Regions from separate parts of the Homo sapiens genome. Here all the other regions are linked to region 2. The links are contacts of gene promoters, found by promoter capture Hi-C in human tissues and cell types (Jung and others, 2019). All regions are on one chromosome and are shown on one strand. Each heading gives the region's core, a stretch centred on a gene start or on the middle of the fragment in contact. The rest is flanking DNA. Distances are from core to core; before and after follow the strand shown.

Evidence for each region. The method cuts DNA at HindIII sites, captures the fragments that hold promoters and counts their contacts. A contact is called where the count stands out against the background at its distance.
Region 1: a contact is called between a fragment that was not itself captured here and the fragment with the promoter of SEMA5A in region 2, in 1 of the 25 tissues and cell types used here (dorsolateral prefrontal cortex).
Region 3: a contact is called between a fragment that was not itself captured here and the fragment with the promoter of SEMA5A in region 2, in 1 of the 25 tissues and cell types used here (dorsolateral prefrontal cortex).

What each region holds. Positions count from the first base shown.
Region 1 is chr5:8,454,177-8,457,723 of GRCh38, reverse strand. It overlaps LINC02226 (long intergenic non-protein coding RNA 2226), which reads left to right and starts at 160. Exons shown (of 6, transcript NR_039984.1): 1 at 160-275. MIR4458HG (MIR4458 host gene) reads right to left here and starts at 37. Exons shown (of 2, transcript NR_039989.1): 1 at 1-37. It also overlaps the pseudogene LOC100419318. RefSeq lists an enhancer at 348-447. The HindIII fragment of the contact is 4,185 bases long and covers 1-3,547 here.
Region 2 is chr5:9,544,001-9,547,590 of GRCh38, reverse strand. SEMA5A (semaphorin 5A) reads left to right here and starts at 1,516. Exons shown (of 23, transcript NM_003966.3): 1 at 1,516-2,007. It overlaps SNHG18 (small nucleolar RNA host gene 18), which reads right to left and starts at 1,391. Exons shown (of 3, transcript NR_045196.2): 1 at 1,061-1,391. RefSeq lists a silencer at 1,393-1,582. The HindIII fragment of the contact is 8,719 bases long and covers 1-3,590 here.
Region 3 is chr5:8,246,809-8,250,622 of GRCh38, reverse strand. No RefSeq gene overlaps it. Among named protein-coding and RNA genes, the nearest start is that of LINC02226, 210 kb to the left of the region's middle. The HindIII fragment of the contact is 5,343 bases long and covers 1-3,814 here.

The sequences.
Region 1 (3,547 bases), core at 798-3,297, 1.1 Mb after region 2:
CTCCCATTCCACACACGCGCCCACGACCAAAGTGCGCATGCTCGACACCTGGGACCAATAGGAATCTCGGTCCGAGGGTAGCTGGGGCCAATCACAGCGCGTCTGGCGTGTGGGCGGTGTCTCCTCGTGTTACGCGTGCGCGGAGGGGCTGCGCTACCCGGTCTTGGGTTTTTCATCGGGGAGTGGGAGTGGACTGAAGGCTTGGCCGCTCCGCCTCACTGAGCCGGCTCAGCCAGCGCAGCTGTTCCTGGAACGCCAGTCCCTTAGGATGGGAGGTACTTTCATCTCGAAGAGGGCCGTGGCGTCTGGAGCTTCCCTCCCTTCTGTCCTGCTGAGTCATCCCCGCGTCGCCTGCGAGGCCGCGAGGCGTTTAGGTCTGGGCAGGCCGCCTTTTCCCCATCACGAGATCCTGTTATTTTACTGTTTCATTCTTTTTCTCACTTTCCTATTTGTTAAGCCAAACTTTTTCCTTCCATAGACGTGACCCCTTAGAAGGCTACCCATGCCTCGACATATCTGACATTTGACGTTTTACTCAAATAATTTGCCAAAGTCTATTGCCTTTTTTAACTTCTATTTTCTAAAGCTAGTTTGATACTAATCAACACAGTTTTTTCAACAAGCATGTAAGTGTGCATATTCTAGACATGCGCGGCCTGAGTTTAACCCATCTGCTACTAATTTGTGTTGTCTCGGAATATTATCTAATCCCGTGCTTCAGTTCTCATATATAAACTGAAACTTTATAGATTCACTGGTGGCCTGTAAGCCTGGCCTGTAAGCCTTAAGTTGAAACATGGAGCATATCAGAACTGTGCCTGGCACGTGGTGAAATGTTCAAAAGTTAGTATTGTTATTAGGTGCTGGGCACTTTTCTAGGCTTTGGGATATAGAGATCAATGTCCCTGATGTCCTGGTGTTTATAATTTATTGTGGACACTTTGCTATTTTTTTGGATACAGATCTTTATTTTCATAAACATGGATAATTTTCATTGAGTGCAGTGTGATCTCAATTGATACTTTTGTAGTATTTCATCATTATGCTTATATTCTTTTTAAAATTTAGGTACTGTTGAGGGAAAGTGAGAATGACATGATTTTGATAACATGGTAGAACCTTTTTCATTCATCTGGTGTTGCCACACTGGGGCTCTGGGTGCTTTATGAATCATGTTCACAAGTCATACTTGTGTCTGTCCATGGTTCTTTTCACTACAGCCACCATAGTTCAGGGTGAGATTTTTCACACCGACTGTAAAGATTTATCTGTGGAAAATGGTAATGAGCTTGCCTGGTTGATGTCCTGTTGTTTTCCCAAGTACATACTTGGAAGAGAGTGAACAGAAGACTAAAACGTGGGTCAACAGATGTTTTGCAGTGAGCTAAAAAATAATTGACTTCACTAGAACAACTGCTTGATATTCTACAGCAGTTTTGCAGGTTTCTGAAGTGGAAGAAGCAGATAGTGATGGAATGCTGCTAAAAGAAATATAAGAGAATAATAACACCCTTGGTGCTTGTTAATTTCATTTTGAATTTTTTTTTTTTAAGTTGTCAGTTACATGTTTGGTGACTGCTTTGAAAGTTCTGATTCTGTTGCATGTGGATCCACAAGGTAGCTTAGGAAGCCTGATGGCAGAATACAAATTGTCTTAAAAGAGTTCATAGGTATTCACAATCTTTGTATTGAAGAAAGTATGATGAAACTCCCCAGGTCCAGTTAGGGCAGCACTGGGAATGCAAGGTGAGAAATTGGAAGAATTTACCACACACAAAAAAATGATGTGTCTGTATTAGTCCATTCTTGTATTGCTATAAAGAAATACCTGAGACTGGGTAGTTTATAAAGAAAAGAGGTTTAATTGGCTCACAGTTCTGCAGGCTGTACAAGCATGCTGCTGGCATCTGTTAGACTTCCAGGGGAAGCCTCAGGGAGCTTTTATTCATGGTGGAAGGCCAGCAGGAGGAAGAGAGAAAAGTGGTGGGGAGGTGCCACAATTTACAGCAACCAGATCTTGCAGGAACTTAGTATCAGGAAGTCAGCACCAAGCCTGAGGGATCTGCCTCCACGACCCAAACACCTCCCACCAGCCCCCGCCTCCAACACTGGGGATTAAAATTCAGCATGAGATTTGGTGGGGACATATATTCAAAACGTATCAGTGTCATTTTATGAAATATTCTGGGCTAAAACAGTGGATCTACAAGCAACTTTTAAAAAGAAGATAATTAACATCTCTCAGTTGACAGTTTCTAACTTGAATCCTAAATAGGCCAAGTGTGCAGCAAGCTTGTGGTTTTTGATCAGACACTACCTGTGAGCTCTCTTTTTCTTAGTTCTAATAAGGAAATAGATACTAAGTCTTAGAAATTTTTAAATACTTTGGGCACAATAACATTTTTTTAAACAAAGACCTAGAGCAACATGTTGCTGGACTTTCTGAGCAAAGAAAGTCAAGTGATATAGAAAACTGACTCCTGGGCCAGGGGTGGTGTCTCACGCCTGTAATCCCAGCACTTTGGCAGGCCGAGGTGGGCAGATCACGACATCAGGAGTTCAAGACTAGCCTGGCCAATGTGGTGAAACCCATCTCTACTAAAAATACAAAAATTAGCCGGGCATGGTGGCATGTGCCTGTAGTCCCAGCTACTTGGGAGGCTGAGGCAGCAGAATTGCTTGGACCCGGGAGGCGAAGGTTGCAGTGAGCAGAGATTGTGCCATTATATTCCAGCCTGAGCGATAGAGCAAGACTCCGTCTCAAAAAAAAAAAAAAAAAAAAAAAGAAAGAAAAAAGAAAACTGACTCTTTCAAAATCCATTTTGAATGTAATAGCAAAAAGTTGTTTTCCCCCTTGCAAATTACAGGCATATGTCAGAGATATTGGGGGTTCAGTTCCAGACCACCTCAATAAAGTGAATATCACAATAAAGCATGTCAGATGAAGTCCTAGACAGCATCTCATTCCACATAAGGCTATTTTGCCTACACTGAGAAGCTGTTGTTTAGTGTAGCCACCTTTATCAATGATCTTAGCTGGATCTTCTGGATAACTCGTGGCAGTGTCTACACTAGCACTTGGTGCTTCACATTGCACTTTTATGTATGGAGACAGCTTCTTTCCTTAAACCTCATCAGCCAATGTCTGCCAGCTTTAAACTTTTCTGCAGCTTCCTTATGTCTCTCAGTCATCATAGAAAAGAAGAAAATTAGGGCTTTGTCCTGGATTAGACATTGGCTTAAGGAAATGATATGTCTGGTTTGAATCTCTCCAGACCACTAAAACTTTCCGCAGATGAGCAGAAAGACTGTTTCACTTTCTTATTATCCCTATATTCCCTGAGGTAGCACTTTTAATTTTTTTTCAAGAACGTTTCCTTTGCATTCACAACTTCGCTACCCATTTGGCACAAAAGGCCTAGCTTTCAACCTATCCAGCTTTTGACATGCCTTCCTTGCGAAGCTTAATCATTTCAAGCTTTTGATTTAAAGTGAGAGACTTGCAAGTCTCCCTTTCACTTGAACACCTAGAGGCCACTGTAGGGTT
Region 2 (3,590 bases), core at 267-2,766:
AGAGACTGGGCATTTGGGGATGGGCTGGGCTTTCATAGAAACCTTCGGAATTGCTTTCACTTAATTCTTTTATTTTAAAAAAAAGTTCTAGAAAATAAAGACACATCGATAGCAATTTGTATTTCCATTGTCCTCTTAGGTCTGCATGGCTACTGTGCGAGCTATGACACCCTGCAGCCTGCAATAGCTTCTTTGTTTTATGGATGAGCTCAATGGAACCCTTATGGACGCACCGGACCATGCCCAGGACCAGCGAGGCCCATCCATACCCCACCACTGGCTGGAAGGGCGCTGGTGTGAACGTGGGTCCTTGCGGGGGTCCCTACCTCACTGCGGTCAGGAGGGGGCAATTCACACATTTCCTCATGCAGGGGACCTTCAAGCCTCCCTCTGAGGCGCAGACTGAGTAAAAAGGGCCCAGAGATACTGTCCCGCACCCCCATCCAGTGGGAAAGGGCCACTCAAGGCCAGTCAGGACTCCCAACCCAAGTTTTATGCCTTATACTCCTATAACTTTACCATTTGCTCTTTTCGCGAGGCTGACCCCCTCCCTCTCCCCCCCCACCGCCTCCTCCAGAAACTGAAGAACTGCAACAAAGTGTCCAATTATACACGTCTTCAAAGGTACTTTACTTGCTTCCCAATTATCAACTTTTCACCTGAGTACTTAGTAAGGCCCAAGGATCCTGCAAAAGTGCAACAAGGAATAATTGACACAGAATTGGACGAATGACTTTGACCATACGGGACTTCTCTCTTAACGCTCAGCGTGGCTACCTGGGGACGCCTTCTCTGGCCTCCCTGATTCGTCAGATTTGTTCATTTCCTTGACTTAATCCCGCTGAAATCGACCCGAACTAGCCGGGAGTCTCACCCCCAAAGTGCTCCTCCAAGAACCCGCAACGACTGACTCTCTCGTCTTCTTTAAGGAGTTTCTCCCTCAGAACGGATGAGGATGTCACACAGAAAGAACAAAATCACAAAGTTCGAGTTCCGGAGGACCAGACGGCCCCTGCCCCCCATCCCCCGGGCCAGATTTAGCCGAGGGAACCGCACGTACCTGAAGCCGAGGCCGGCAGAGAGGGAGCGCCACGTCTCAGGTCTCGGCCGGCGCCCCCCTCCGGGGTGCAGCCACGTCTGAACCGGGACAGCGGGCGGGGGAGCCGCAGAGGGACCCAGTGAGACGGGGGAGGGAGCCCCCAAAAGTCAGCGCTCGGCCGCACTCGCACTGGGGAGGCTGGAATGGAACTCCTGGGGTGCAGCGGGGCTCCCAGGAGCGAAGGTGGGGGTCCTGTACCGGGAAGGGGCGGGGCCCGGGGAGGGGCTCGGGGAGGTCAGGCGCGGGTGGGGCGCTCGAGTTTCACCCCGGCGGGGAGGAGGAGGAGGAGGAGGCGGCGCGGCGGCGGGGGCGGGGCAGGGGCGGGGCGGGGCGGGGGTGGGCCCAGGCTGTCCCCCGCTCCCCGCCCAGCGCTCTCCGCCCCGCGCTCTCCGCGCCCGCTCGCCCCGCGCCGATCTACTTGCCGGGAAGGCGGCGCCGGTGGCGGCTGCTCTCCCTGAGCCCGCTCCCGAGCGCTGCTTTCCCGCCGCGGGTGGGCTTCGCAGCCTCAGGCCAGCCGCGGCCCTTGGCCCGCTGCAGCCCCGGCCCTCCACCTTCCCCGTGCAGGGGCGGCCCGGCCAGTGTCGCTCATCCCGGGACGCTCCCTTCTCCCACCCAGGACTGCCCCGCGGAGCTGGCTTGGACACCCAACTTTGCCACCTCGAGGGTCGTCTCTGCTGGGCGCGAACCTGCCCACCCACCGGTTGGCCGCGCGCTCGGGGACCGTGCTCGTGGCCCCCAAGCCGGTGCCCCCATTCTGGAACTCAGCGAGTAGGGGGCGGCTCTGGGGAAGTGGCAGGGGGCGGCTGCAGCTGCTGCCTCCACTTCCCTAGCCAGGTGCTGAAGAGGATCCTCGGAGCCGCTCTGGCCCCCAGGCGCTGGATGACTGGCACCAGCGCTCCTCGCACCTGGTGAGCGACCCCCGCCCGATTCCTGCGTGGCCTTGGCAGGAGCCCCTGACCGCGCCGCGCCGCGCCGCGCCGCTGGCCGGGACCCGGGGACTGCAGCGGTCGGCTGGTGGGTGGTGCCGATCTCGGGTGGGATCCATCAGCAGGCACCTGGGCGGGGGTTGCGCGTACAGGATTAGGACGACCGTCAGTCCGGGGGCGCCCACAGTTGAGCTAGTGCACGGGCTGGAAGTTTGTGTACCCGCCTGTGCCGAGGTCTGAGCATGGAGAGGTAAGGAGCCGGAGTGTCGCGGTGGGCGAGACGGGACCCCTGCCCAACACCCGGAAAGGTGCGCACACTGGTCTGTGCCCGCCCCCGGCGCGCCTCCAGGCTCGCACTGCCGCGAGCCGGGGGCAGGGGACACGGAGGTCGGGACTTGGCGGTTCGGGAGCGGCCACCTCGCAGCCCCACCGGCTTGGGCAGGTTTTCCTGCTTTCCTTACAGGGGAACCGGGAGGCAATGGGACTTGGGCTCAACTCCGCCAAGCGCCTTGGTTAATGAAAGACACTAAGGCGGGGGATGCAGAGGCCTGGGGAACCACCAGCCAGGTGCGCTGCAGCTAGGCGAGCCCCTTTCACCAGGCATCCCTCCGCTGCTCCACGGATTTTGCACACCGCGGCTCAGGGTTTCAGACCCCAGGGTTTCGGGCAGATCGGGCTCCAGAGGGAATGGTTTCTCCCAAGATGTGCGTGGGAACGGTCGTGGAGGAGTGATTCCCCCGGCTCGCTCCCCGCGGCGGCCGGTGCCTGGCTTGGAGCGGTCACATCCCTGTTCCCCTGGCTTTGGCGGGAAGCGCGTTCACCTCCTCGCCCTTTGCTTGCTTTGTACCAGGATGCCGCGGCCGGAGTTGGGATTTAACTTTCCTGCGCCTGCGGCGTCCTCGGGATTCCCGGCAGGGGGCGCTGCGAGCGAGCGCTCGGAGGACGAGGCGCCACAGGCAGTTGCTGGGTCCTGGGCGAGTGGGCGGGAGTCCCAGGCAACAAACAGCAGAACCAGGCAGATCTTGCAATAATTTCATTTTGGGGGCCGGGGGTTGGGGGAGCTGATCTGGTGGCTATAGAGAGCTGTCAGCCTTGCTAGGAGAGGGGACAGGAAAGGTGGTGGCCAGACATAAATGCTCTAACTAGAAAGGTCTCTTCCAGAGAAAAAGATCGCTGTAAAGTCTTCCTTGTCTGGGCATCTGCCTTCCTTGTGACTGTTACATTTACTCAGAAAGAAATCGAAATTGAGGGAAGATAACGTGAGCTTTGTTTAATACCGTTCTGCTTTTTAGGGGTACTTTAGTTAACACATCAGGAGTCACAAATGATTGTTCTGGTTTGTTTTGAAGAAAGACAAGTTTTACGTCTAGCTTACCGAGAAGAGCTCTGTCATAATGGCTGAGTTTGGAATCAGCAGATATGTTATTAATTATAGAGGTAGTCTGTTCATAAGGAGACAGAAACACAAAACCAGGCTTTAATAAGAAAGATTTTTCAATACCTAATTAGGATTGCTGAATTTGTTGCTAATTAATGCCAGTTTCATTATTTTAGAGAGTGTAATG
Region 3 (3,814 bases), core at 1,059-3,558, 1.3 Mb after region 2:
CTCTAGGCCAGAAAGAGGGGTCGAGGTCCTCCTAGCTTCCCTGGGCTGACTCCAGACCCATCTTCTATCTCCGGTTTTCAAAAACCACTGCTTCTATGAGACCAACACCATTAAAATCCAATGCTACTCTTCCAAAATCACCACCATGCTCCATGTTGCTATACAGCACTCATTTTTTTTTGTTTTTTGTGTCACCACAGTTGATTCTGCTAAACCTCATGTTCTCTGAGCATCTGTGGCTTCACCCCCTCTTGCTTTTTTGGCTTTCCCCTTACCCTCCTGGCCCCTCTTCATTTTCTCCACCTCTAAATGGAGAAGTTGAAGAGCTAAATCCTGGATTCCTTCCTCTTCTCCCTTGAAATTCTATTCCTAGATGACGGACTCTGTTTCTGAGGGTCTAAATAATCAATATGACTCTGGCTCCATTTTACTCTTGTAGAAAATTTTCCCAATAAATCTCTTGCACATCTCACCCCGTGTTGCAGTCTACTTCTTGGAGAACTTGAACCAGCACAAGAGATGTGAGGACTATTTGGACTAAACCAAGATAGGGCTGCTGAGAGCTCAAGAAAACACCACTAGGGCCTTTGGGTAAGTGTGGGCTTTAAAAGAGACGTGACTGTGCCACATGGTGAGGGCTCCAGAGGCAAGTTGCTATTGCTTGACTTAAATGATGAGGGCAATATCATTCATCCGTATACTCTTGCACACAGGACAGCAACAGACTGGTGAGCCATACAGACTTTAGTGAGCAGGTGCGACCAAGGAAAGAAAGCAATGAGGGTAAAGAAATAATTTTTCTGTGTACTGGGTTTTAAGGAATTGATGGACAGAACAGTATTTGTGCCTTTGAAAATGCAAAGTGGCTGAATTGTGGGTTTAACACAGAGCACAGAACATTAGGGAGTTCCAGGCTTAAAGTATCAGTGCCAGTCCTGGAGTGCTACTGGCAGTTGCAAATGGAAACAAAGATCCTTAATGGAAAAGGAATACCTCCAATTAGACCTAACAATTCAGACATCTACCACAAGACGTTTCTAAACTTTCACAAAGGCAGCAAAATCCCTGGATATCAGACTGAGTAGAATAAGAAATTAGAATTTAATTTCTTTAGACTGTTAACTTGAAGGAGCAAGGCACATGAATCTTAACTTAAATAAATTAACTTTCAAGGTGATTTAATCTTTGAACTTTAACGTCTTTGTAAAATTTTAAGAATGGGAGGGGTTTAAGATTTAAATTTGAAGTCAGAATTTTATCATTGAAATGTTTTTATATATTTTATTGTTGAGTTTCTTAATGTTGTAATTGGAACTCTTTACAGAATCACTGGTGGACTATTTTGACAATATGGTATTTGGAATGGGAAGTAGAATAATATTTTTTTTTAACTTTGGATCAGTATAAGTCCGAAGTTATTTTAATTATTGTATTTTTCAGACCCATTTCAGGAGCTTGTGTGGGACAAATCCATGCTGCCCACTACTGTTTCCAGGGAAAACCTAAGTGAAATATTCCAGGAAACAGGGTAGTCACCAGGGGATTGAGGTTAGGAAGTTGAGAGTAGGATTGTCATGATGGACTGTTCTTCCCTTCACAGCAGGTAGAGGCCCACATCCCAGGTCACCACAAGCTTTTACTTTAACCCCAGTGAGTTGAGAGAATGGGAGGCTGGAGAACATTGGTGGGGGTAGGTAATATACTGAAAGGGAGAGTGAATATTTATTATCCTGCCTTGGTGTTTCCTTTCATGTGAAGATGGCTCTTTGGAGCTATCCTATGGTGTCTCTCCTCCCGCTCATACATTCCTCTGTATGGGAAAGTAGGAGAAACTATTCTGATATGTAAGACTGATCTCTCAGGATCTGCTGTCTGCAGGGACCACTTGCTGTCCTCCACTGCCCCCGCTCCACCTCCTTTCCACCGTGGGGATGCCTAAGCTCCAGCCATGGCAGGGTGGAACTTCTACCTGAGCCAGGAGTCTGATGTTAGAATCTCATTTTGCTGTCACTTCTGAGATGCATTCTCCAGCATCACCTCATCCCTATAGAGAGCTGCCTCATGGGAGCACATTTCATGATTTTCTTCATGTAAGAGCAGGACACAGTCCCTGCTGCTCTCTTCACTGGGAAGGGCTGCAAAGCTGGAGATGTGGTCACAGCACAGTTGGCGTGCTCAACAGAGGCCCCTACTCTCTTCTACAAGCCATTACACACAACACGAAGTACAATTAACCTAAAATTAGCCCCTCGTGTATGTGGGCTTTGAGGATTGGTAGAATTACTGATATATTGAGTGAATTATTCTAAGAGACTTTATAGCTTCACAGAGGGGGAATTAAAACACATGTCGTTATGTAGGGAAACATGGAGAGTTCAGACAAACATGGCAACACTTCTTATTACATTTTGTCTCAATAAAAAATGATTTTCATGGCCTCAGATAGCATCTTATATAAGAAGTGGAAGGGCGTTACAGGGCTGATTCAAAATAAGACTTCATGTTTTTATGTTGTTTTATTTATTTCCTTATATGATAGGAATGAGAAAGGACTGAATCATATTTTGAGAGAATTGTTATGGAATTTGGTAATAAAGGGGATTTTTGTCACTGAATTGCTCAAAGCTGTTTTGAGATTATTTTTGCTATAGTATTATTAAAGCCACCTGTGATCCAGCTAAAAACAAAGACCTGTGAAGCTCCACTTGGCTTCAGGTCGTGGTACTTCCTGGAAGGCAGTCACCATCCTGGACAACTGCTTTGGTCTGGGGTGCTATAGTGATATAGATAAGTGATTGACTGAACTTGCCACAGAATGTAAAAACAAGATGATTTCAAGAAATTGTCACCAATGCCCACATTTTCTTCACCACATTAGCGATAGCAGCATAATATTTTTACTCTATCAGCTTTAAAAATCAACCAATGTGTAGCAACTACTCCACCTGTTGGTATTGGAGATTATAATGCCAGAATATCAATCTTGATACACAGCCCGTAATGTCATCAATTTATTTTCTAATCTTCAGCAGTACTGACATTTGAATAATTTCAGATAAATCCAGAGTAAAATTTCCTAGCTTCTCTCCTAAGCTGACCCTCTGGAATCCCACCAAGGATGTGAATCTCTTCTCTATCAGGCACTACGCAGGACTCTGTGGGTCTCTGAAAATGCCTTAAATATTATTCTAATTGAAAGTACCCTGGAACTCAGAGGCACCATCTCCACCGGAGCAGAAAGACTGACCCCACGTGATCTTCCAGTTCCAAGGGGATATCTGGGTTCTGGGTGTGGCACAGGGCCCTGAGAGCTGAGTGCCTGTGACCTTTTCACGTCATGAGATCATGAGAGTGTGTCCATGAAATAAAGACTCTGCCTCTCCCTCGATTCTCCAGACAATGCATTCCCTAACCAATGCCTTAGGATAAAGTGAAACAGATGTCTTCTGTCTTCATGAACCACACGCTTTGTATAAATAAGGATGTATCTGACATCCCAGAAGTTAGATTTAGGCTTCTCCCTATGGAAAACATCTCTAAAGACAAAACACTGCTAAGCAGAATTTCAGGTTTCCAATATGCACTACTCTTGGAGAAAAACCCGTGGATAGATTTTGTTTTCTTTAAAAATAATGTATAATTTTAACTAAGAAAAATTTCAGAGGATTTTTATTAATTTCTGCTGCTTGAAATGGACCATTAGTGTATGTCCAATTTAATGATAATCCCTCACACATTGTTCCCTCCCCTCCAGTGCCAGATTCAGTGCTCACCTTGAAAATCGGGTTGTAGTATTCACTGTTATTTTATTTTA